6 separate regions of the Homo sapiens genome follow, and all the other regions are linked to region 3. The links are contacts of gene promoters, found by promoter capture Hi-C in blood cells and fetal thymus (Javierre and others, 2016). All regions are on one chromosome and are shown on one strand. Each heading gives the region's core, a stretch centred on a gene start or on the middle of the fragment in contact. The rest is flanking DNA. Distances are from core to core; before and after follow the strand shown. Region 1 overlaps CHN2 (chimerin 2). Region 2 has its middle 36 kb from the start of TRIL. Region 3 holds the start of CPVL (carboxypeptidase vitellogenic like). Region 4 overlaps CHN2 (chimerin 2). Region 5 overlaps CHN2 (chimerin 2). Region 6 overlaps CHN2 (chimerin 2).

Region 1 (3,328 bases), core at 95-2,594, 190 kb after region 3:
GTGGGTTGAGCAAACAAACATTTATTGAGCACCTGGTGTGTACAAGCATTCGGCTCTGCTTTGGTGCTGAGGAGAGTAAAGCTGCCAGGGAAAACCGAGGGGACACACGGACAGCTCCAGTGGGGTAGCTTTGCAGTGGGACTCACACCTCTTCATTCTACCAGAAGCCAGAAGATACTCACTGGGGACAGTCGTGATGGGAGTTTTTCCATGAGCAGCAAGAGCTAATGGGCCGTTTGCCTACAAGAGAAGGTGGGACAGCAGATTCCTCCTGGAGAATCTCCCTTGTGGCCCTCTCATTGCCCTCTGACAGATTGCAAGCCTGAAATCTGTCAGCTTTGAAAGATTGCCTGACCCTCCAGTATTTGGCTATGTAAGACAGGTACTGAAAGACGGCTTTTGTTGAGGAACTGACTCCCAATAAAAATGGTTAACTATCCAGTGTGAGAAAACACGCCGTTGAGGCTGGGCATGGTGACCCACACCTGTAATCCCAGCACTTCGGGAGTCAAGGGTGAGGATCACTTGAGCCCAGGAGTTCAAGTGCAGCCTGAGCAACACAGTAAGACTCTGTCTCTACAAAAAAATTCAAAAATTAGCTGGGTGTGGTAGCATGCATTTGTAGTCTTAGCTTCTTGGGAAGCCAAGGTGGAAGGATTTCTTGAGCCTAGGAGTTAGAGACCAGGAGTTCAAGTCCAACCTGCAACATAGTGAGACCCTGTCTCTACAAAAAAAAATTTTTAATTAGCTAAGCATAGTACTGCACACCTGTAGTCCTTGCTACTCCAGAGTCTGAGGCAGAAGGATCTCTATAGCCCAGGAGTCTGAGTTTACAATGAACCATGATTGTGCCACTGTACTCCAGCCTGAGTAACAGAGCAAGATTCTGTCTCAAAAAAAAAAAAAAAAAAAAAAAAAAAAAAGCTTCACATGCAAACCAGAAAGTCTCCTTGCTTCTCAGAATGCTTGAAGTGAAAACAACAAGCATTCCACCTTTCTCTCCCTCCCTGGCACAGGGCCTGGCAAACTCCTACTCATCCGTCACTGCCCAGCTCCAATGTCATCTCCTCTGTGAGGTCTTCCTTGTTAGCTTCCCATTCGCCCCTGCCAGGAACCTGGCTCCTGTCTTCCGGCACCCACCACCCTTGCATGCACTCCTTCATACACTCCCCTCTGCTTGCTTCCCCTCTAGGATTGGGTGCTGCTTCAGGGAAAGGACTTTGTCATCTTTGTGTACCCAGTGCCTAACTTGGGATCAGGAATAGAGTGATGGGTAAATGTTTGTTAAATGGAGAGAGGAGAACATGAACAAATGATCTTTTATAAAGGCACAGGTGTGTAAATATACAATTCCTCCTTATGACCGTGCTGCTGAAAATAGATAAACAGAGGGTACCAGTACAAACAGCTTCAGACAGGAGCTAACTATTAAGGAAAGGTTTGTTTTAATTTTAGTTTCAGACTCTGGTAGTGGAAGTAGGAACTTTCACATGCTGCGATTAGGAAGACAAATGTCCCACTGTGCAAACAGCAAGAGGATATGACTGCTGCCAGCACGCAGTACAGCTGTCCCCAACTCTATGAAGACATGCAACACTCATAACAGCAGAGTGCGGAGAGGGGGTCTATTCTTCTCACTCTGTTATGTAATGTGAATACTTTCTCTTGCGGAAATCATTGGGACCACTTGTTGTTTGCCTTACTCTTAACCCTTTAATCATAGACCTACTGATGCTGTCACCCAGGCTGCCACGGGGTGACAGGAAAGCTTTCCTTCCTGCATACATTTGTTCAAGCATTTGGCATGGAAGTGATAAATGCATGCTAATGCAGAGCTTAATGTGGAGCTTTCAGTTAGCATCTTGCAGGTTGTGAGGGATTGTTTCGGCTGTTGGGTCCTTACTCTTGCTTCTTCCTGTACATCACAGACACGCTTCCTGTGCTGTTTGTTGCTCTGTGGTGTGGTTGATGGGGTGTCTGAAGTGTTGCTAATGCAGTGCGTGTGATCTTTAGAAATATTTTCCCTGAAGTTATTTTTAAAGCAAGTGATAAGAAACCACAGAACACCAAAACCCAGAAGGAAAGGAAAACTGGAGGCTCCCAGTCTCAGGAGGCTTCAAGAATCAGAGCCAACTAGACAGCCTGACTGGGCCCCATCTATTTTTACTGGTCTTACAGTAAGGGGTAAGGTTTAGGTTGGAAATAGATGAAGGCAGGCTTAATATACTTACAGAGAGACTGAAGTAACAGCTTGAATGTTGTGACATAAATGAGTTTGATTGCTATGATAAAATATGGTAGGTCAGTCTTCCCAAGATGACTATTGGGTGTACATGTTACTGGCCATAATTTATTCTTATGGGATACAAATGAGTTGGCCAACTTTGGGCAAGGCACCATCCTCTGTGGGCTTCAGATTCCAAGTCTGTAAGATGGGATAAGAGTACCCACCTCATAGTGCTGTTTGGAAATGAAGTGTGATAATATATGTGCAGTCCTAGGACATTGCAGTGTCTAGTATGAGAGACAGAATTTTGTAATGAAGAAAAGTATGCTTTTCAGATCCGGACAATGCTAGATTTGAATATTCAGCTTCACTATATGATTAATATATGTGATTATTTATGTGATTCTGGGCAACCTCACTATTCCTCTGTTTATTTGCCTGTACAATGGGACTAATAATACCTGTTTTATAAGCTGGTTGTGAGTTTTTTGTTTGTTTGTTTTGCCACAGAGTCTTGCTCTGTTACCCAGGCTGGAGTGCAGTGATGCGATCTCAGCTCATTGCAACCTCCATCTCCCAGGTTCAAGCAATTCTCATGCCTCAGCCTCCTGAGTAGCTGGGATTGCAGGCTAGTGCCACCATGCCTGGCTAATTTTTGTATCTTTTAGTAGAGACAGGGTTTCACCACGTTGGCCAGGCTGGTCTTGAACTTTTGACCTCCAGTGATCTCCCTCTCTCAGCCTCCCAAAGTGCTGAGATTACAGGCATGAGCCACTGCACCCAGCCCTGGTTATGAGTATTAAATAAGACACTGCATACAAAACATCTAACAACGTAATGAAAGACTATTAATAAAGGCTAAGATATCTACATGATATCTGTCAAAATTATCTTTCACAAAAGGAATGTTATCTTAGATTTTATTTTATACAAAGCCTGTCATACTATTGGATTACTCAGTTAATTTATTTTGAACCCTCAATTACATTCTGGAAAAGTCACAGTAGACTTGAAATGATGTTAATCAGGGATAGTTTTGGACCTTTGTAGTGGTCACTTCATGGAATCATTTTTAAAAAAGGAAGCTAAGAAATTTAACCT
Region 2 (3,631 bases), core at 284-2,783, 220 kb before region 3:
CTTGTCTTAGTAGCCCAGTAGCTGTTGTTCCTCCTTAACAATCGACTCATCTATGCCTTGTGGGCCTGCGACTCCTGGAGCTTACCCTGTTTCTTTGAATTGCTAGTAAACTGCAAACCAAATCTATGATTCACCCTTACCAAAAGTTTTGCAGAACTTCATTTTCATTAGTGTATGTTGTGGACTCATCTCACGTCTGGCCCCATTTCATGTCCCTACACTTTCCTTTCCTCCCTTTTCCTTATCCCGCACCCCAAAACCAATGTCTATTTTATATCATGTTATTTTAAACATTAGATATAGATTTCCAAAACCACCTTAAATGTTTTGATTCAAAGTTCTAATATACATACATGGAATCAGAGTGATTTTTAATAATTGTGGTGTACAAAACACTATGTGCCTTTTTGGATTGGCTTTGCAGGAAAAGACATTTTTTTAAATAAGATCAACAAATAAAGGAATAGCTAAATTGGAACTTGGAAGCAGAATTCCAAATTTCTTGCCTTAACTGGTGGCTCACACACTCCTCAGCAAGTAACGAAAATATTTTAGATCTGTGGTCAAGTAAGCTCCTCCATTTCATAAGTTCAAAAGCAAGAAAAATATCAGGGAATTAATACAAATTCTACTAAAACTTTTAGAGTACTCTGTTTTAGAGGGGCTCTATGATTGCTAATATTTAAAGCTATATATTGTGAAGTTCTAAAACGTAAGATGAATTACAACATTTCCCTAACCCACTTATCACATTTTCAGGGCATGTTACATTTCAGAGGGGCATATATTTGGTTCTTATAATTTGTTTACTTTGATTGTTTCATTATAAAAGAAATACAAGTTTGTGTTAATAAATGAATGATAAAGTAAAAGACAAAAGTCTTCATCCTCTTGCCCTGTCCTCACCTTAATCCCCAGAGGTTACGATTGTTAGCAACTTGGTAACTATCCTTCTAGATCTTTTCTATGTATAGATACATACAAATGCTTGAGCATTGATGTAATGTATATTATAAAAAGAAGCTTTCTATTTCAAATGGATCCAGTGGATACAACACAATTTACTTACCCATTCGGTTATTTAACATTTTCAATGTTTTCTCCCATTTGATTTCAGAGCTGAAGGGGAAAACAGAGAGTGGCATGTTAGCCCCTTATTAACGCCCATCATTTTGTATGCTCCTGTCCACATTCCATATTGAATCCTAGCACATCAGTGGATCATTCACTTACTCTCTCTTTCATCTACAGCAGGAACGTAATAAGAACAAAGATGGTCATACTCTAACAGTCACATCCCAGTGGCTTCATGTTCCCTGGACAGGACTGCATTCACCAATATGTATCCCAGTGCTTGTGATTATTATAGTACTGTGTGACATTTGCATTACATCTGTAAATTCCCAGAATGGCCACCAGAGGGAATCAACCACCCAGCGCATTCAGAGCTATTGAGTCTAGCGCCAATGACACTGGCTTAGCTCTTATCTCGAATGTGTGTCTGCTTACATTGGCTAGCATTTTTTAAAATTAGATTATATTTTTAAAATGGCCATTACTGAACTCCTCTCCAATTAATATACGGAACAATGCAGGCAAAGTGCTTCAGACAGTGCCTGGCTAAATAAACACAGTAAGTTATTATTGTTATTGTCATTCATAAGCCATTTTAAAAAGAAGAGAACCATTCCTTGCTGTGCTATTATCCCTAACAAATATTTCCTGGCAAAGGCTCATCTATTTAGTAACAGTCCAATGCATAGTTACCACGCCGCTCCCCAAAGTGCTTTGGTCTTGGTTGCTTGATTAACTTCAGGATAAATGAGTGGCCCTAGCCAAGAAGACTTTTACAATTTTTCATTCTTATTTTCTGTTAAATATATGTTGCCTTATATACCTCTCTCTCCCCCTCCGCATACAATAAAATGCATTTCATGAAATACACACATTATATAGACTCTTTCATCAGAGAATGGAGGGAGATATTCTGGAAAAATGCATTTTTTAGTTACCACCATCGCCAAGATAGACTTTTGGACAATATTAAGCTTGTTGTCACTCACAAACCTTATTCAAGCATGTCCATGCCAATGATGAATGGATACTTTCTCTAATAAGTGCTCACAAATACAGCTATGGGAGGATTCCACCAAATTTACCTCAATTTCCATTATTTCAATATGCATTTACACATATTCTGATGTTTATTGACCAATGCTCCGTAAAAATCCAAAGGCAAATGAGTGAATGATGGTAAGCCTCGAGACCACACGGTGGCGCTGTTTCATCATACTTGAGAGAGGCTTTAGCACTTTGCAGGAGACCACGGCCCCCTGAAAACAGAAGACCATGAATACAAGAATTGCCTTCCCTGTGTTACTCCAATTTGAATGAGAGAACCCAGTAGAGTTTAACATTTAGCATTAATTCGTATCTAAACAACAAAACAGCACCAAAATGCAAATGTGAGGAAATCATTGCTGAAAAGTGGGTTGTTGGAGAAATGATACATAAATGCTTCATGCTGTTAATTTATGCTACCACTTTTCATAGCAATACTGCAAGCTCTCCCTAGATGTGCGAGGTGTTTTCACTTTCATGCTTATATTTTGTTCTCCACATGATCCAGTGAAGCAAGCAAGGGGGCTTTGATCTCTATTTTACAGCTAAGGAAACTGAAACCTTTCCTGGCACCCAAAGATTGCAAAATCTTCTGCAGCACAAAAGAGTTTTTTGTGTCCTAACATCTCTCTGATGCTTGTGAGAAAGTGTAAATTCCAGTAGGCACTTTACCCAAGCCACCTTGAGGCTCTGGTTTTTTAGTTCATCCCACCCCAGGCCCAGGCAGATATGGTTGAATTCTAAGGTTTCCATTCTTTCCCATTGACCAGAGCAGGCTGGCACCCAAAGTGCTGATCAGGAAGAAGGCCCCTCTTCCACCACCATCACAGAATCCCCAAGGAGCTTGTCTTCCATCCTAGGCATGTAAAATGATTTACTATCTGCGCCCTTCAGCTGTAGAGCTGAAATCTGCATCCTGTACCTAGTCCCTCATGATAGGGAAGAGGTAGAAAACAAAACACCCTCCACTCATTTCTTATTCATAGAGCAGCCAATGTAAAATATGATTACATACATGATGGATTGGATCCGACAGATAGTATAAAAGGCAAGCCGGGGAACATTAACTAGGGAATGGATTTTTCAATGATTTCCAATGTCTCTTGTAGTCAACAGTGAAGGGAAGGGAAGGGATGAGACAAATGCAAAGAGACACACACATAACTTTCAGTATCAAACTTTAAAATACATTTCACTCTCAGATAAAGGCTTATTGCGTGTTTATCCTATGCTTTGCTGTGTGCTTTATATACGTGATTTCTTATTTATTTATTTATTGAGATAGGTTCTTGCTCTGTTGCCCAGGCTAGAGTGCAGTGGCACGGTTTTGGCTCACTGCAACCTCTACCTCCCAGGCTCAAGCAATCCTCCCATGTCAGTCTCCCTAGTAGCTGGGACTACCGGCTAATTTTTGTGGGTTTTTTGTTTTGTTTTTTGGTTTTTGGTTTTTGTTTTTTTTTGTAGATACAGGGTCTCACCATGTTGCCCAGGCTAGTCTTGAGCTCCTGGA
Region 3 (3,533 bases), core at 1,034-3,533:
TACTTCCTATTAAGAAGGGGTCACTGGCCAGGCACAGTGGCTCATGCCTGTAATCCCAGCACTTTGGAAGGCCGAGGTGGGAGGATCACTTGAGGTCAGGAGTTCGAGACCAGCCTGGGCAACATGGCAAAACCCCATCTCTACCAAAGATACAAAAATTAGCCGGGCATGGTGGTGTACACCTGTAATTCCAGCTACTCAGGAGGCTGAGGCACAAGAATCCCTTGAACCCGGGAGATGGAGGTTGCAGTGAGCAGAGATGGTGCCACTCCAGCTTGGGTGACAAAGTGAGACTCTTGTCTCAAAAAAAGAAAGAATGGGTCATTACTATTTACCTTGAGTATTTGGGTGCTAATAAACAGATATCTGATGATACCTGGGGCAAGAACTGAGTTCCTCCCCTCTCATTGCCTTAGTTCTGTGCATCCCAGGGTAGTATTCAACACTCAGTGTTTCCTCTGACAAACTAGATGCTTCCCAAAACAAAAACAAACTCATTTTTAGAATTCTGTTATATTATTTGCTTCTTGTTTTTATTTTTTGTGGGGAGTGAACTGGTAAACCCAGTGGACTTTCTTAACACTCTTCTAAGTCATTCAAACTGTCAGTCAAAACCCACCTATTTCTCAGGCTAGTAGAATCCCACTATAAAGTGATTTATAAACTGGATTTATATAAATTGGGGGATCAATTGCCCCTCCCAAACAATCATCTCCTATAAAAGATTAATAAAACAACATCTGGTTAAGAACACTGACACTACATTATAAAGGGTTGCCCCTGTACTTAGACTAGCATGAGGTACACATCTAGAATGCCCAGTTAGCCAAACGGTCTTGACGACCATGCAGACTTTCATATGCCAACAAAGCCGGTGCAGTGTACTTTTCCAAAAGTGCTCCAATTCTCCTTTTGGACAACTTTCTTAAACGTTATTTACCAAGCTAATAAAATGTATTCTCAATGGACTTTTTACTCTGCTTACATCTTTGTTCTTACTCATCCCAAAGCAAAGAATGGAAAAAAAATGAGTTGTACATTTAGCCGGGGAAGGGAAAGGCAAGTACTGAGGGGCTCCTTTTTCATTTACTGATGCCAAAACTGAGGCTGTGGAAGATAAGTTACGTCCCTGATGTCATCCAAGTAGTGGATACCGGAACCAGGAATTGCACAGAATTGTCCAGCTCCAAAACCCAAGCACCTTGCTTGGGACCCACTGGGGTTGCAGTGAAGGTGGGGGGCTCAGAGGTGACTGCACACGGGTCATGCATAGCCACAGTCATTATATGGCCAGAGTTTTAAACATTATTTTGTTCTGTCTTCACCATAGACTTCATCATCAATCATAACTGATAAGGAAAATTACACTTAGCTGAAAAGCCAAGTCCCGTGCTAGGGAGGCATTTTCTGTATGTTATTTCTATTTCCAATAAAACAATTCTTTAAAAAGAAAAACTTATTATCTCCATCTTTCAGATGGAAAGACTGAGGTTTAGTAGGCTTAAATAATTTGCCCGAGGTCACTCACTAGCCAAGGCCAGAACTGGGATTTAAATCCACAAATATTCCAAAGTCCTTTTGTTTCTGTATCACTTCACAGGGAGCTGCTTCCACCTGTCTCCTGTGCCCTTGGTTTCTGCTAATCCTACATTCCAAGAATAAAAGTCTTCCTATGCGTTCCTAGGCAGAAGCCAAGTTTCCCTGCTTTGGGCACGTTCAAAATAGAAGGTATTTTCCGCTTCTCTTGCTTCTGAGCACCCACGAAATCAACACATCCCCAAAACACGCGTTGAGGGAGTAAGGGAAAGTGTCCTGCACCCGCCACCCTCCCGCGCTAAGAGCGGCAGAGGACCCCACAGCTTCGTACTTCCCCGGAGGAGCTCCTGGAGTAGGAGACGGCTTCTAGCCTGGAAGAACCCCGGGTGCGACAGTTGTGCCAGGAAACTTCAAGAGTATTCCCTCGGCTGGGCGCACGCAGTACATCCCCAATGCTCCAATTTGAACTTTGACTCGGCCACGACCACCCCACTCCAGTCTCACTCTACGGTGCTTTCTCCCCTGTTGGTGCTGAGGGCTTTTGAGACTACCTGCCCCGCGCTCCCTAAGTCCGAGGGACCGAGGCGAGGACCTGTCCCGCTGAGCTGGCACGACCCACGCAGGGCAGGCGGCACTTACGCGGCGCAGTCGGTGCTCCTCCCTGAGCCGCGGCGCGCAAGGACCCCAGCCGGTTGTCCTTGCAGCGCTTCCCAAATCAGGCAGAAGTGAGGCAGCCCCACCCAGTCACGAGGACCCTGCAGAACTCGAGCCTTTAAGCGCTCCTCTAGGCTCACATGACCCAGACCCACAGGGCAAAAAGTGCGTCGTCGTGTCCCAACCTCCTGGTCCCAGAAACCTGGCCGCATCAAGTCAGCGCTTCCCATGCTGGAAGAAGCAAGCAGCCCCAGGGTGGAATCTTAAAAATTAATGAAGAGCATCGGCGGGGTGCCATTCAGGTTGGTTTGTCCCTTTGTTTTATTTTGATTTTGTCTCCCAGTTTTTAAAAGCTGCTATCTTAAAATTTCAACCCTGTATTTTGAAATTATTTCTGCACTCTAGGACTTACTTGCAAGCCCAGGATTTACATTTGGAAAGCGAGTGGTGTTTGATTCCCACTGTTTAAAAAGGCAACACACGTTCGCTGATGGTCTACATTCCAGCTGCACTAGCAGTAAGCTCGCACCAAGTGCCACTGTCCTGCCAAGCACTCTCCTGAATCACTGCGCTGGAGTCTCAGAGCCACCTGATGTGTTCTGTACCATTATACCCATTTTGCAATTGGGGGACACAAACTAAGTGAGGTTAAGTAACCCATCCAGGGTCACATTGCTTGTAAGTGACCTGAGTGTATATTATTAGCCACCACCAGGTGCTGGGCATCGAGCCAGACAGTACGGGAGCAAGAACTAAAAAAGGCAAGGAGGTTGCAATGGCAAGTAGATAACACAAAATAAAGGAGGGTCATCATTATCAGCAACAGCAGCGTCAACTGCCAGACAGGTGGGAGAGGCCACGGGGAATCTTCTGCACTGTCCCGGGCCAACCTCCATCTCCTCACAGCTAGCTGCAGGAGTGAGCCCAGGGAAACCCGCAGTAGAGCAGCCCAGCCAACCCGACAGTCAGGGGGAAAAATTGTTTTAAGCCACTTTCAGTTTCGCGTAGTTTGTTATGCAACTAAGGCTAACTAAAGCACTAGTTTTACGAGCTGGAACAAACTAATGTCACTGAATATCTGTTTTCTCCTAAGTACCTACTTTATTGGGTTGTTGTGAGGACTCACTGAAAAACTATGTGTAAATCACCCAGCACAAAGTATGTGCTCAGTGACTGCAGTCATTCTTTGCTATCATACCTTCCATATGGAAGTACTTCCTACCCACCTAGCTCTTTAAGGAGAAAAATCTGTTTGTGGGAAAATAATTCTTTTAAGGCCAAAATCAGCCCACCTTTAATATATGCAGGACCCAGGGCAAAAGTACAAACAGAGATCTGTAGGC
Region 4 (3,635 bases), core at 953-3,452, 250 kb after region 3:
AGAGAGGAATTTTGCATTTTTAGTTCTTTTATACCTTCAACTTTTGAAATTGGAATTTTCTGCTGTGCACAGGTATTACTTCTGTTTCTAAAAATAAATTATGGCTGGGCACAGTGGCTCACGCCTGTAGTCCCAGCACTTTGGGAGGCCAGGGAAGGCAGATCACTTGTGCTCAGGAGATTAAGACCAGCCTGAGCAACATGGGAAGACCTCATCTCTACAAGAAATACAAATATTACCTAGGCATGGTGGCACATGCCTATGGTCCCAGCTACTCAGGACCACAGGTGGGAGGTGGGAGGATCACTTGAGCCCAGAAGGTCAACTGAACCATTGCACTCCAGCCTGGGCAACAGAGTGAGACCTTGTACAAAAAAAAATTAATAAATTAATACCAATTAACTTGGAAAATTAGAAAATAAAGGAAAATAGAAGAGGGAAAATACCCATAGTTCTACCATGAAAGAGAATCATTGCTAACCTTTTCTCTTCATCTCTTTCTGGTCTTTGTGCATGCTTGCTTTTTTCTTACCAAGTTGCAGTCATACAAATATATTAGATATTATAGGTTGGAGATATTTGGACTTTTAAAAATGATGCATAAAGGGGATGACAAGCCACAGACTGGTCTTCAGGTGCACAAAATTGTCATTTTCTTCTTTTGAATGATTGAATTTAATTTAGTTATTGACACTGTTTGACGCTGTCAATCACTTAAACTTGCCAATTCAAGTGAATTAAAACTTAAGTTCTAGGTGACTATAGTTAAAACAATTTATTATATATTCCAAAATAGCTAAGAGAGGCTTTCGAATGTTCCTAACATAAACAATAAATGCTTGAGGTGACAGGCATCCTGATTACCCTGATTTGATCATTATACATTGTACTTATGTATCAAAATATCACATGTTCTCCATAAATATGTACAATAATTATATATCAATTAAAAATAAAAATAGAAAAAGTATGCATACTCAAAATCAAGAATTAAAAAAGAAACATAAGACTTAGCTGCTTTTGACTGGGCACAGTGGCTCACACCTGTAATCCCAGCACTTTGGGAGACCGAGGCGGGTTGATCGCCTGAGTTCAGGAGTTCGAGACCACTCCGGGCAACATGGTGAGACCCGCCCCCACTCCCCGCATCTCTACTGAAATACAAAAAATTTGCCGGGCATGGTGGGGTGTGCCTGTAGTCCCAGCTACTCGAGAGGCTGAGGCAGGAGCATTGCTTGAGCCTGGGAGGCGGAGGTTGCAGTGAGCGAGCTGAGATCGCGCCATTGCACTCCAGCTTAGGCTACAGAGTGAGACTCTCTCCAAAAAAAAAAAAAAAAAAAAAAAAAATCTAGCTGCTTTTGGGTTAACTGCCTTGTTTAGAGACTACCCCTTTTCCTGTCCCTTCTCCTGGAGTGACCTGGGGCAGGTCCCTCTGCGTGCCCTGTCCTGCTATTGTTACTCTGGCCCACGGGCTGTGTCTTCGACATCCCAGCTTTTGTCTTTTCTACTTATGTGTTGGAATATTGGCAATGCTGTCTGCCCCTCCCACTCTCCTGCTGCATGTCCCTCCCCCCACACCCACCCCCACACTCACTGCCAACCCACCCGCCAACCCATCCGCAAGGCTGCCCCCAGGGCTCTTTGCCCAGGCCATCTGTCCCATCCTCTCCAACCTGGCTCAGGCTGCACAGGAGGCTCCTCCGCAAAGTTCCTAGGTCCAGTGACCTCACTATCAAAGCTCCAACACCTCTGCTCCAGGCCCCAATAAACTGGCCTCCCGGTTCCAATCCACACCTGCTATGCAGGGCCAGTTAGACCCCCTGAGACTGGGCTCTGCCTCAGTCCCTCCCACCAGAACCGGGGATTCACAGAACATTCATCCTCACTCAGAAGAGCATTGCTCCAAGACCTCCAGACATCAGCTGTTGAGATTTAAAATCAAAATTTGGGAAGCCAGAAAGCCTTTTTCTTCCAGGCCATCACTGCCGTACACCTTTAAGAAGCGATTTTGAAACACAAAGCCACAGGCTGCTTCTGACCTCACTTTCCTTGGACAGAAGCTTCAGCTTGGAAGGTCTACTTTTTAAGGATAGAGGGAATTAGGAAATAAATATTGTGATAGGCACTTTTAAAAATGTTATCCTTCTGCATTTGTACTCTAACTTAATCTTTGCATTCCTGAGGAAAATACAAAACAAAAGAAAATTTGTCTAGCTTACTTCCCTTTCCTCCTCTTCAAGAAAGTAAAGGTGTTTTTCTCTGTCCAGAAAATTTATTCTCTGATTTATTATCCAAAGTTCTCCAAGGTTGGATAATCCTAGAAAGGGGTGTTACTCCTTTCCCAGAAGCTTGAAGTCCCTTGGGACTGCCTCATTTCCCCAACCCAGCTTGCCCCACTTTCCATGAAATACTGGTTGATCAAATCTCCAGTCCTGTGGGAGGAGCAGCTGTATTTACTTAAAGGCAACAGGGAACGTGGGCTGGTTCCTGACCCAACTCCTACCTCTCCCTATTCCTCTGTGGAGTCACTGTCCACTCTCTGGGCCTCAGACAACTGCCTCCACATCAGAGTGATCATGGGCCAGCACACAACCCTCCCGGATATGCCACATTTTCCACATGCATGTGTATGGGTTTTAAAATGGTAGAGAAGATAAATTTATCTTTAAAAAAGAAAAATAGGTACATTTTCTAAAATACCCATAAGCTATTGCTCTCCAAGTGTAAATAACTGGAAGAATGTTGATGATAGCTACCTCTTTCCAGAAAATGAGCCTCTAAAATTAACACCACCCTGCACCTGAAGCAAGCAGGTTGCTAATCAATAAATGTCCACTTGCAATTAGGATAACACATAGTTCTCTGAGCTGAGAGCTAAATTGGTAATTGCTCTTCTGTTATTTCCCATGGTTAAAAAAAAGGGGGGGGGGGGGCGGTGGTTGAGTAACCTGGCTTTTTGTTTCAACTTTCATTTTCAACTTGAAAGCAAAGACAATAGCAGAAAGCCAGGTGGACTGGGCATCCTTCCTTTTGTTTGCCTGCTTGAATACTTGTGTTTGGAGCATGTGAGGGGTGGTTCCAAGTCACTTAAGATGGGCAGTAGTCACCCCCCTTCTTCACTCAGTTGTGGGGCTGTCGATTCTGGGTGCCCCCACCATCCTTTTAAGGCTAGTTCTTTGTGGTCCTTATTCTGTATGTGGTCTGTTCAGAGCATTGATGGTCTTGTACCTTCAGGTTTCATGGGATCATCTCTCGGGAGCAGGCGGATGAGCTTCTTGGAGGCGTGGAGGGTGCCTACATCCTTAGAGAAAGCCAGCGGCAACCAGGATGCTACACGCTGGCTCTCAGGTGAGGCGCATTTCATTCCTTGTTTTCATTGCTGTACAAGTGGCTTCACTGATGTTTGCCCATTTTTAAGAATTGTAGCAGAGTATACATAACACAAAATTCATCATTTTTCCCATGTTTATGTTATGAGGGGGGGGTCCCACTCTCTCACCCAGGCTGGAGTGCAGTGGCACAATCATGGCTCACTGCAGCCTCTGCCTCCCAGGCTCAAGTGCCTCCCACCTTAGCCTCCTGAGTAGCTGGGACCACAGGCACACACCACCATGACTGGCTAATTTTTTTTTTTT
Region 5 (3,462 bases), core at 415-2,914, 210 kb after region 3:
TATATAAATTATAGTGTTCATTAATTTAGTCACTCCTTCATTCAACAAATGCATATTAAGTCTCTGCCTTAAGCCGGGCACTGTGCTTGGAGTTGGGCCACTAAGATGGATAAGGTCGGCTGTTGACTCAAGGAACGGTGATGCCACGGGATGGCCTTTAAGTCCCTGCCCTCTCTGTTCCTTTCCTTTTCTTAGAAAAGGAAAAAAAAGGAAAAAGCTTCATGGCTTACTGAGCTGTTTCCATAAAATAATCTTGTCCCAAAGTATCATACATCTGCAGCTAATTCTTAACTCTCAAGACTGAATACAAGAAACATTGATGACGTCACTGAGAAAGCTTTGGTTTCAATGCTCTAAAAGAAGAGCTACTTTCAAGTTTACTTAAAAATAATAATAAAGCTACATTCTAAACTTTAAGCCAGAACTGTATGAACTTTATGCCTCGAGCAGGCAAGTTCAAAAGCCAATCACCATGGTTATGCTCTGAAAGATTTTCTTTCTTAAGAGGCCAAGTGCCAATTAGGCAGCAGATGCAGTGGCTGACAGCTCTCCCTGGAGGCTCCCCTGGGCAGCAGGTCACTCAGGCATAGCTTGTGCCTGTTTTACAGATTTGAAGTTTAGAGCCTCAAAACCCTGATCTGCAGAATCCCTGCATCAGAATCCCTTGGGGAGGATATTTATGATAATTATTCCTCAGCCTTACCCCAGATCTCTGGATCAGAAAAGTGGGGGGATCTGCAATGTATCAAACCCCACAGGTTTCTCTTATACATACTTACGCCTGAAACCCCTCAGTGTGTGGGCAACTGTCATCTCCTCCTAGAGGTTTTTCACAGTGCCATTAGACAAGATAATTAAATCCCCATTAAGACTCGACATTCTGGCCGGGTGCAGTGGCTCACGCCTGTAATCCCAGCACTTTGGGAGGCCGAGGCAGGCAGATCACCTGCGGTTGGGAGTTCGAGACCAGCCTGACCAATATGGAGAAACCCCATCTCTACTGAAAATACAAAATTAGCCAGGCATGGTGGTGCATGCCTGTAATCCCAGCTTCTCGGGAGGCTGAGGCAGGAGAATCCTTGAAGCCAGGAGGCAGAGGTTGTGGTTAGCCGAGATCATGCCATTGCACTGCAGCCTGGGCAACAAGTGCAAAACCCCGTCTCAAAAAAACAAAAAAAATTGACATTCTGTTAGGAAGGCAAGGCCTTCCCATGGCAGGGTGGAGGGTGGGGTTGAGCCAAGGAAGACACCTAAAGCACCTACAATTCCCTGCTTATAAGGTTTTCCCATGAAAATCGGGAAGACATGAGCAGTGAGCAGGGTCATACTGGCTCAGCGTCATGGCCAAGTGCCTGGGTTCAGCTCCTGGGTCCATATACCCTCCTTAGAAAGAAGTAGACTGTTAGAAGCCATCCCTGCAGGATCTCTTAGGAGCTGATGGGGCTGGCCTGGGCTTCAAGGCCACCCAGGCTGTGGGCTTTCACCCATTAGCCGTCTGATTCTGTTCCCAGAGTGAGTCAAGTTTTCTTACTGAAGAAAAAGTAAAACAGTCTGTCAGTGAGCTCACAATTTCTTAATCTGCTTTGGGTTTCTTGGGGAGTTAGGGAGCTCCACCTCCGTGTTCCCCAGTGGCTGCCACCCCTGCCAAACAGCTTACTCTGGTGCTAAGAATTCTCTGGTGTGCGGCAGAGGGCCCGGGGCTGGGAATTCCTGGCACATATTTGGGACATTGCTGCAGAAGTAATTCCATCACGTCACCTCTCAGCTCACAGACCACCCAAGAATTGACATACATTATTGCATGTGACTTGTGAAATGTGTTTGTTGAACAAGGAAAATTCAAGAAGCAACGTTTTCAGATTATGCGATAAATTTCTGTTATATTCAACTCTGCCTCAGAGATTTTTTTCATGGATGCTATAGCTAACCTTGAAAATGATGGGCAGGCTCTCATTTGAAGCTAAGAGAGGAGATTGGGCCTTATTTTTATATGGTTGCCGTGGTAATTGATTGTCATCTCATTATCTTTATAGCCAGCCAGGTAACCCAGATGGCAAATAGGCTTCTGTGCCTACTTGCCAACTTCTGTTGTTTGGAACAGCATAGAACAGGGTTTTGCAGATTCTGAGACCTGCTCATTGAGAAATAAGTCATCAAATAATGATGTCTACTGCCGAGGGGCCAGGAGAGAGAGGTGGCAGTTCCTCGCTTCTGGGGTTTGCCTTCCCCTTCCCTCCTCCAAGTCGCCCCTGGCTGGGGATTGTTCTTTGTTGGTTGTGAGATTGGTGAATTACCAAATTTTTCTTTGCTAAAGCTCAGAGGGTTCCTAGAGAATGCAGCTATGGGATTTAGCCTGTTGACATAGGAGAGGAACTGTCCAGAAATGTTCCATCACCTGCATCCTTTATTTGTATAGTAGCATCTCAATCTCTCAGCCGCTCAGGGTCTCTTTGTAAACCAGTCTTGTTGATTCTCTTTTGAATCTCTGAGGCCATCAACTCACCTTCTCATTTGCATTTGCACCAGTGTTATCTTAACTCACACTTTCACAACCTCATCTGTGTACCAGTAAAACACTGTTCTCTCTTGCTTCCTTGTCTCCAGTGTTCCCCATGTCTGATCCCTCTTTCAGCAAGGCAAAGGACAGTGGCTCCTACTCCTGGATATGCATGAGTCTCTTGAAGAGCTTTAAAAAGAACAGATCTGGGGGCCCCTGGCCGGACTGGGAGAGTAAGCAATGCCAGAGATGGAGTCTAGGAATCTGTATTATTTTATAACTCCTAGGAGTTTCTAATGTGAGCAGCTCCTCATGGGACCTCTCCACCATCTAGTTAGGCAACCACTGGCTGAGGCTGAAAACTACAGCCTTTGGGTTTTGGAAATCAAGGCAATGAATCTTCATTTCATCCTCTGATCTGTGTGACCTTGAGCATCTTCAAAGCTGGCAGGCAACCCCGCTACCTTATTAGTGAGGGGAATAACAGTTACCTTGGAAGCTTTTTGGGAAGATGAAGTGAGAAGATGCATATAATATGCCTGGCACATGGTCTGTGCCCAGAAAAGGGCAGCATTTCTTCTTCTGAATAACCTTATCCCTATTACCAATATTTTAAAACAGAGTAGATCATGGCTCCTGCTCAAACATGTGACTGTCCCTTTGTTACAGACAGGAGGACAGTCACGGTCCCCAGCATGTCATTCAAGGTCCAGCCCCACATGGCCTTCTCACACATCCCACGCCCTGGCTCAGCAGCCACACTGGCCTCTTGCTGACCAGTCAGCTCATCATTTCCTTTCCCTGCAGTTCCTCTTTCCTCTATCTGTAACTCTCTCTCTTCTCTACCTGCAGAACCCTTCTAATCCTTCAGGAGAGCTCCCTGCCTCTTCCCTTGGGAAGTTGTTCTGACCACTTGAGTACATTGAATAGCTTCCTCCTCTTCCCCTATTAAAGTACTTGGCCCA
Region 6 (3,576 bases), core at 256-2,755, 230 kb after region 3:
CAACTTTTCTGTATGTATGAAAATTTTCATTATAAAACGTCAAGAAGAAAAAATGAAGACTGTGTGAGAAGAGTGGCAGGATGTGCTCTGGCCCATGGAACAAAGACATTCTCTTGGGTGCACAGCCCTGACAGGTGGGAGGATGACTTGGCATGAGAGCTGTCGAAAACACTATAAGCCATGCTCAAGAATTTTTAATGTGGAATAGAGAACTTTTCTGAAAAAGCATAGTTGAAAGCAAGGACAAGCATTAATAAGGCACTTCTACTCTTTTATTTATTACCATGTTGGGAATTATTTTGGGAGGAGTGCTTGCTTCAGAAATGCTAAAGTAGGTAATTTGTAAAAAAAAAATTAATAGAGAACAGGCTTCTGGATTTTATGTAATCATTACAATATAGAGCAATGAGTGCTGGCCCTGATATCAGGAATTGGGTTTTAACTCTGAATCTGCTGCTATCCCTGGGCAGGACTGTGGGCAAATTAGTTAATCACTCTGAACTGCAGCTTCCTTGTCTATAAGAAGAAGGCAAAGATACAATTCCACCCTCCTGGTGGGAGAATATATGTAAAAGCATTCTGAAGGTCATGACGTTATCAGTGAACAATGAGTTCTCAAAGGGGGCAATATCACCCCTAAAGTGGAGAAATTTGGTTCTTACCAAAAAAAAAACCCTTACTATTTATATGTATAAAGCACAAATACCTATATAGAACATAAACAGATATACAGTCTATATGTAATATTAAAATTCCTTTGTGGGGAGGTGCTTGAGAGAAAACCTGTCTAAAAAGGCTCCTTAGGGAGCTATAATGCAAAAACAGACAAGCCTTGAATTTCTACCATCTCCCAGATTCTGTTCTCCTTTCTTTTTCTTTAGGTAGATTAATTTTATCCATCACTTTGAATACTTAATACTCTTACATTTCTAGGAGAGAGAGAAAAAAGTAACTTCTGGGAGAAAACTAAGAATGATAGACACTTTGCCTTTTCCAAAGTACGTATAGTACCACTTAACCCAAATACCATTAAGCTTTGATGGAAGGAATTTACTAACAAGAGTGAGGAATTAAATGAGTATACTCACCCAATCTTTTTTCCTCTAGAAATTTAACAGCAGCATGAGTTTTCCCTTGATTTGATTCAGTTCTGTTGGGTACTTCAAGCTCTTTGGGCTTAAAAGGTATGTGGAGAATTTAAAGAGAGTTTGGAGGAGAATAATGAAGATGAATTAAGGATTGGAAATTGGGACCTATTAGAAAAGGTCAAAGGCACAAGGATTATTTAGTTTGAGGAAGAACAGGCGATCTAGTGGCACAGAGATGGCTTTTAATAATGGAAGCCTTATTCTGTAGAGAATATTCTCAGATTCTCATTTGCACTGAAGACCAAAAGAAAGGAAGATGCATAATTGGAAGCTGGAGGAACATAAGATTAGATGTGAAGATAACATTTATCTTCATGATTAAATTCTGGATTTTGAGTCTCCTTTACAGTATTTCTTATTTTAAAGTAAAATCCCTGTTTGGTCGATCAGAAGTGTGGACAAGTCAGCCCATCATGTTTGATTCTCTGGCCCTGGTTGGGAGGTCAGCCAGCCAGCCCAGCCAACATGGCCTCCTGGGGATCTGGCTTGATGGGAGAAAACATTCATTTCACCTGGACCTGTGGCTCCAGGATGCCAAAGATGAGTACAAAAAACTCTAGCCAACAGAGTGCCAGGCTCGTGCCAGAAAAGTATGCCTAATTGGGTTGTCCAAACAAGGAGGGCCTAAGGCAGATTTTGAGAGCCAACATATGGAGCCAAGGAATCACGGTGCCAAAGAAGATGTAGCAAAGAAGAGTGGGTGAAAGTGAGCTGCTGGGAAGAAGGGCTGGATAGAGGAGTGCCACTCATGGCTGGGCTTTTGGGTGTTCCTGGAAGCCCACTGTGAGAATGGATCAAAATCAATGGGAAGGTGCTGCCAAGGTGTCCTAAGCTTCTAGGATAATATTTATTCTCTCAGGGTTTTGGAACTGCTGCCCAAAGTCATAGTTCTCAGTCCTGGGTGTGAGTCAGAATCACCTGTGGAGCCTGGCAAACCTTACAGACACCCTGGCTCCAGCCCTGGAGATTTTGATTTAATGGAAATATCACTTAGAATTCTATTGTAAGCAATAAAAGTCTATTCTCACTAAACTAAGCAAAAAAAAAAAAAAAAAAAAAAAAAAAGCAGGGCCTAGGAGGGCGGACCAATTGTGGTTAGAAGGATATGAGGAAATTCCCTGGATGGAAAGAAAAGCTGGTCAGAGGGCTTGAGAAAGGATTTGAAGCAAGACTGACAGACCTTGGGCAATAAGAGGTGATGGTTAGCGTCAGAGTTCCAGGGTAGTCCAACCTGCCCTTTGCACCTTGCTTCTCTGTGCCTCAGTTAGTCCTCTGGAAATGGATATAACTGATCTTACCTCTTGGGTAATCATGAGGATCGACAGGGTTGATATATGTAAAGAAAGTGCTTAGAACAATGCCTGGTACATAAGTTCTCAATAACTATTAATGATTATTGTTGTTATTAGGCTCTGCCATGCATGTGAATCAACTCTTAACAGTTTCATTTAATGGTTTCTACTCAAGTCTCAAATTCCAGGGGCAGAGCATCTGGGTGGCTTATGTTGGTTCACATGTTCACCCTCTAAAGAATGTGAGGGACTTCGATTAGCAGAATCACTGGCTCGAAGTCACAGTTGTTGCCTGTGGTCTTCAGTCTTCACTCTGGAGATTCAGAAAGCAGACAGGGGAACAAGTTTTGTCCCGTAGCTTGGAAGCATAAAGCATCAAGGTGTGAGCTACCACCAATGCCAGTCTTTCCATGGATACCCCTTTTGAAATTTCAGTGAGCCCCAGAAAGGGATCTGGGAGCATAAGCAAACCTGCCTTTCACTTATTGTGTTATGCCATGAGGCTGAGCTCTGTGAACACCGTGAGCAATATGCTGGGACAGCAGAGGTGAAGAAACAGGAGCCCTTCCCTCAAGGAGCTCACATTGAGAGCTCATAAAAGCCAACAATCCCAATCCCAGTAAGATCGCCACGGCCCTAACTCAGGCCTTTTATAAAGTTCAGAGGCAGGAGACTTCCCCAGGATGGCAGCATTTCAGCTCTTACTTTTAAATTAAATCAGTGAGATTTTGCCAGGCTAAGGCATAGAGAGACTGAAGAACAAATATTAGAATTCCAGGCAGAGGACATAACCCCACCAAATAATATCCTAGAAGTATGAGCAGCCGAGGGTGTGCTTCAGAAACTACAGAAGCTATGTATGAGGAACATGAAGAACTGAGGGGTGAGGATGTCGTGGGGCAAGAGCATGTGTGTCAGTAAGAACATATTCTGGACACACAAGCAAGGACCATCCAGGGAAGATCCTAGATGCTATTCATGTGTTCATCCAGTAAATACGTATTGAGCCCTTGGGAAGGGCCAGGACTGTTTTAGACTCTAGAGATATAGCAGTAAGCAAAGCACAGTAATCTTTGCCCTTATATAGTTTCCATTTGAATGGAAGATATTGGCAAAAAAATGTATTCATCAGAGTT

What was found. Contacts are between HindIII fragments. The CHiCAGO score rates a contact against its expected background, and 5 or more counts as called.
Region 1: a contact is called between a fragment that was not itself captured here and the fragment with the promoter of CPVL in region 3, in 1 of 17 cell types (M1 macrophages). The highest score is 5.5, in M1 macrophages.
Region 2: a contact is called between a fragment that was not itself captured here and the fragment with the promoter of CPVL in region 3, in 7 of 17 cell types (M2 macrophages, total CD8 T cells, M1 macrophages and 4 more). The highest score is 8.8, in M2 macrophages.
Region 4: a fragment that was not itself captured here is called in contact with the fragment with the promoter of CPVL in region 3 in 5 of 17 cell types (megakaryocytes, total CD8 T cells, M1 macrophages and 2 more); the score reaches 6.7 in megakaryocytes.
Region 5: a contact is called between a fragment that was not itself captured here and the fragment with the promoter of CPVL in region 3, in 1 of 17 cell types (endothelial precursors). The highest score is 5.2, in endothelial precursors.
Region 6: a contact is called between a fragment that was not itself captured here and the fragment with the promoter of CPVL in region 3, in 3 of 17 cell types (endothelial precursors, naive CD8 T cells and activated CD4 T cells). The highest score is 6.0, in endothelial precursors.

The regions. Positions count from the first base shown.
Region 1 is chr7:29,335,867-29,339,194 of GRCh38, forward strand. The region is part of intron 1 of CHN2 (chimerin 2); the gene reads left to right. Among named protein-coding and RNA genes, the nearest start is that of CHN2-AS1, 130 kb to the left of the region's middle. The HindIII fragment of the contact is 844 bases long and covers 923-1,766 here.
Region 2 is chr7:28,920,542-28,924,172 of GRCh38, forward strand. No RefSeq gene overlaps it. Among named protein-coding and RNA genes, the nearest start is that of TRIL, 36 kb to the right of the region's middle. The HindIII fragment of the contact is 1,025 bases long and covers 1,022-2,046 here.
Region 3 is chr7:29,144,254-29,147,786 of GRCh38, forward strand. CPVL (carboxypeptidase vitellogenic like) reads right to left here and starts at 2,284. Exons shown (of 13, transcript NM_031311.5): 1 at 2,176-2,284. It also overlaps a transcript of CHN2 not described here. The HindIII fragment of the contact is 3,879 bases long and covers 1-3,533 here.
Region 4 is chr7:29,395,139-29,398,773 of GRCh38, forward strand. It overlaps CHN2 (chimerin 2), which reads left to right. Exons shown (of 13, transcript NM_004067.4): 5 at 3,235-3,348. Among named protein-coding and RNA genes, the nearest start is that of PRR15-DT, 170 kb to the right of the region's middle. The HindIII fragment of the contact is 288 bases long and covers 2,059-2,346 here.
Region 5 is chr7:29,359,358-29,362,819 of GRCh38, forward strand. All of the region lies in intron 2 of CHN2 (chimerin 2), which reads left to right. Among named protein-coding and RNA genes, the nearest start is that of CHN2-AS1, 150 kb to the left of the region's middle. The HindIII fragment of the contact is 2,659 bases long and covers 336-2,994 here.
Region 6 is chr7:29,379,624-29,383,199 of GRCh38, forward strand. The region is part of intron 3 of CHN2 (chimerin 2); the gene reads left to right. Among named protein-coding and RNA genes, the nearest start is that of CHN2-AS1, 170 kb to the left of the region's middle. The HindIII fragment of the contact is 946 bases long and covers 1,033-1,978 here.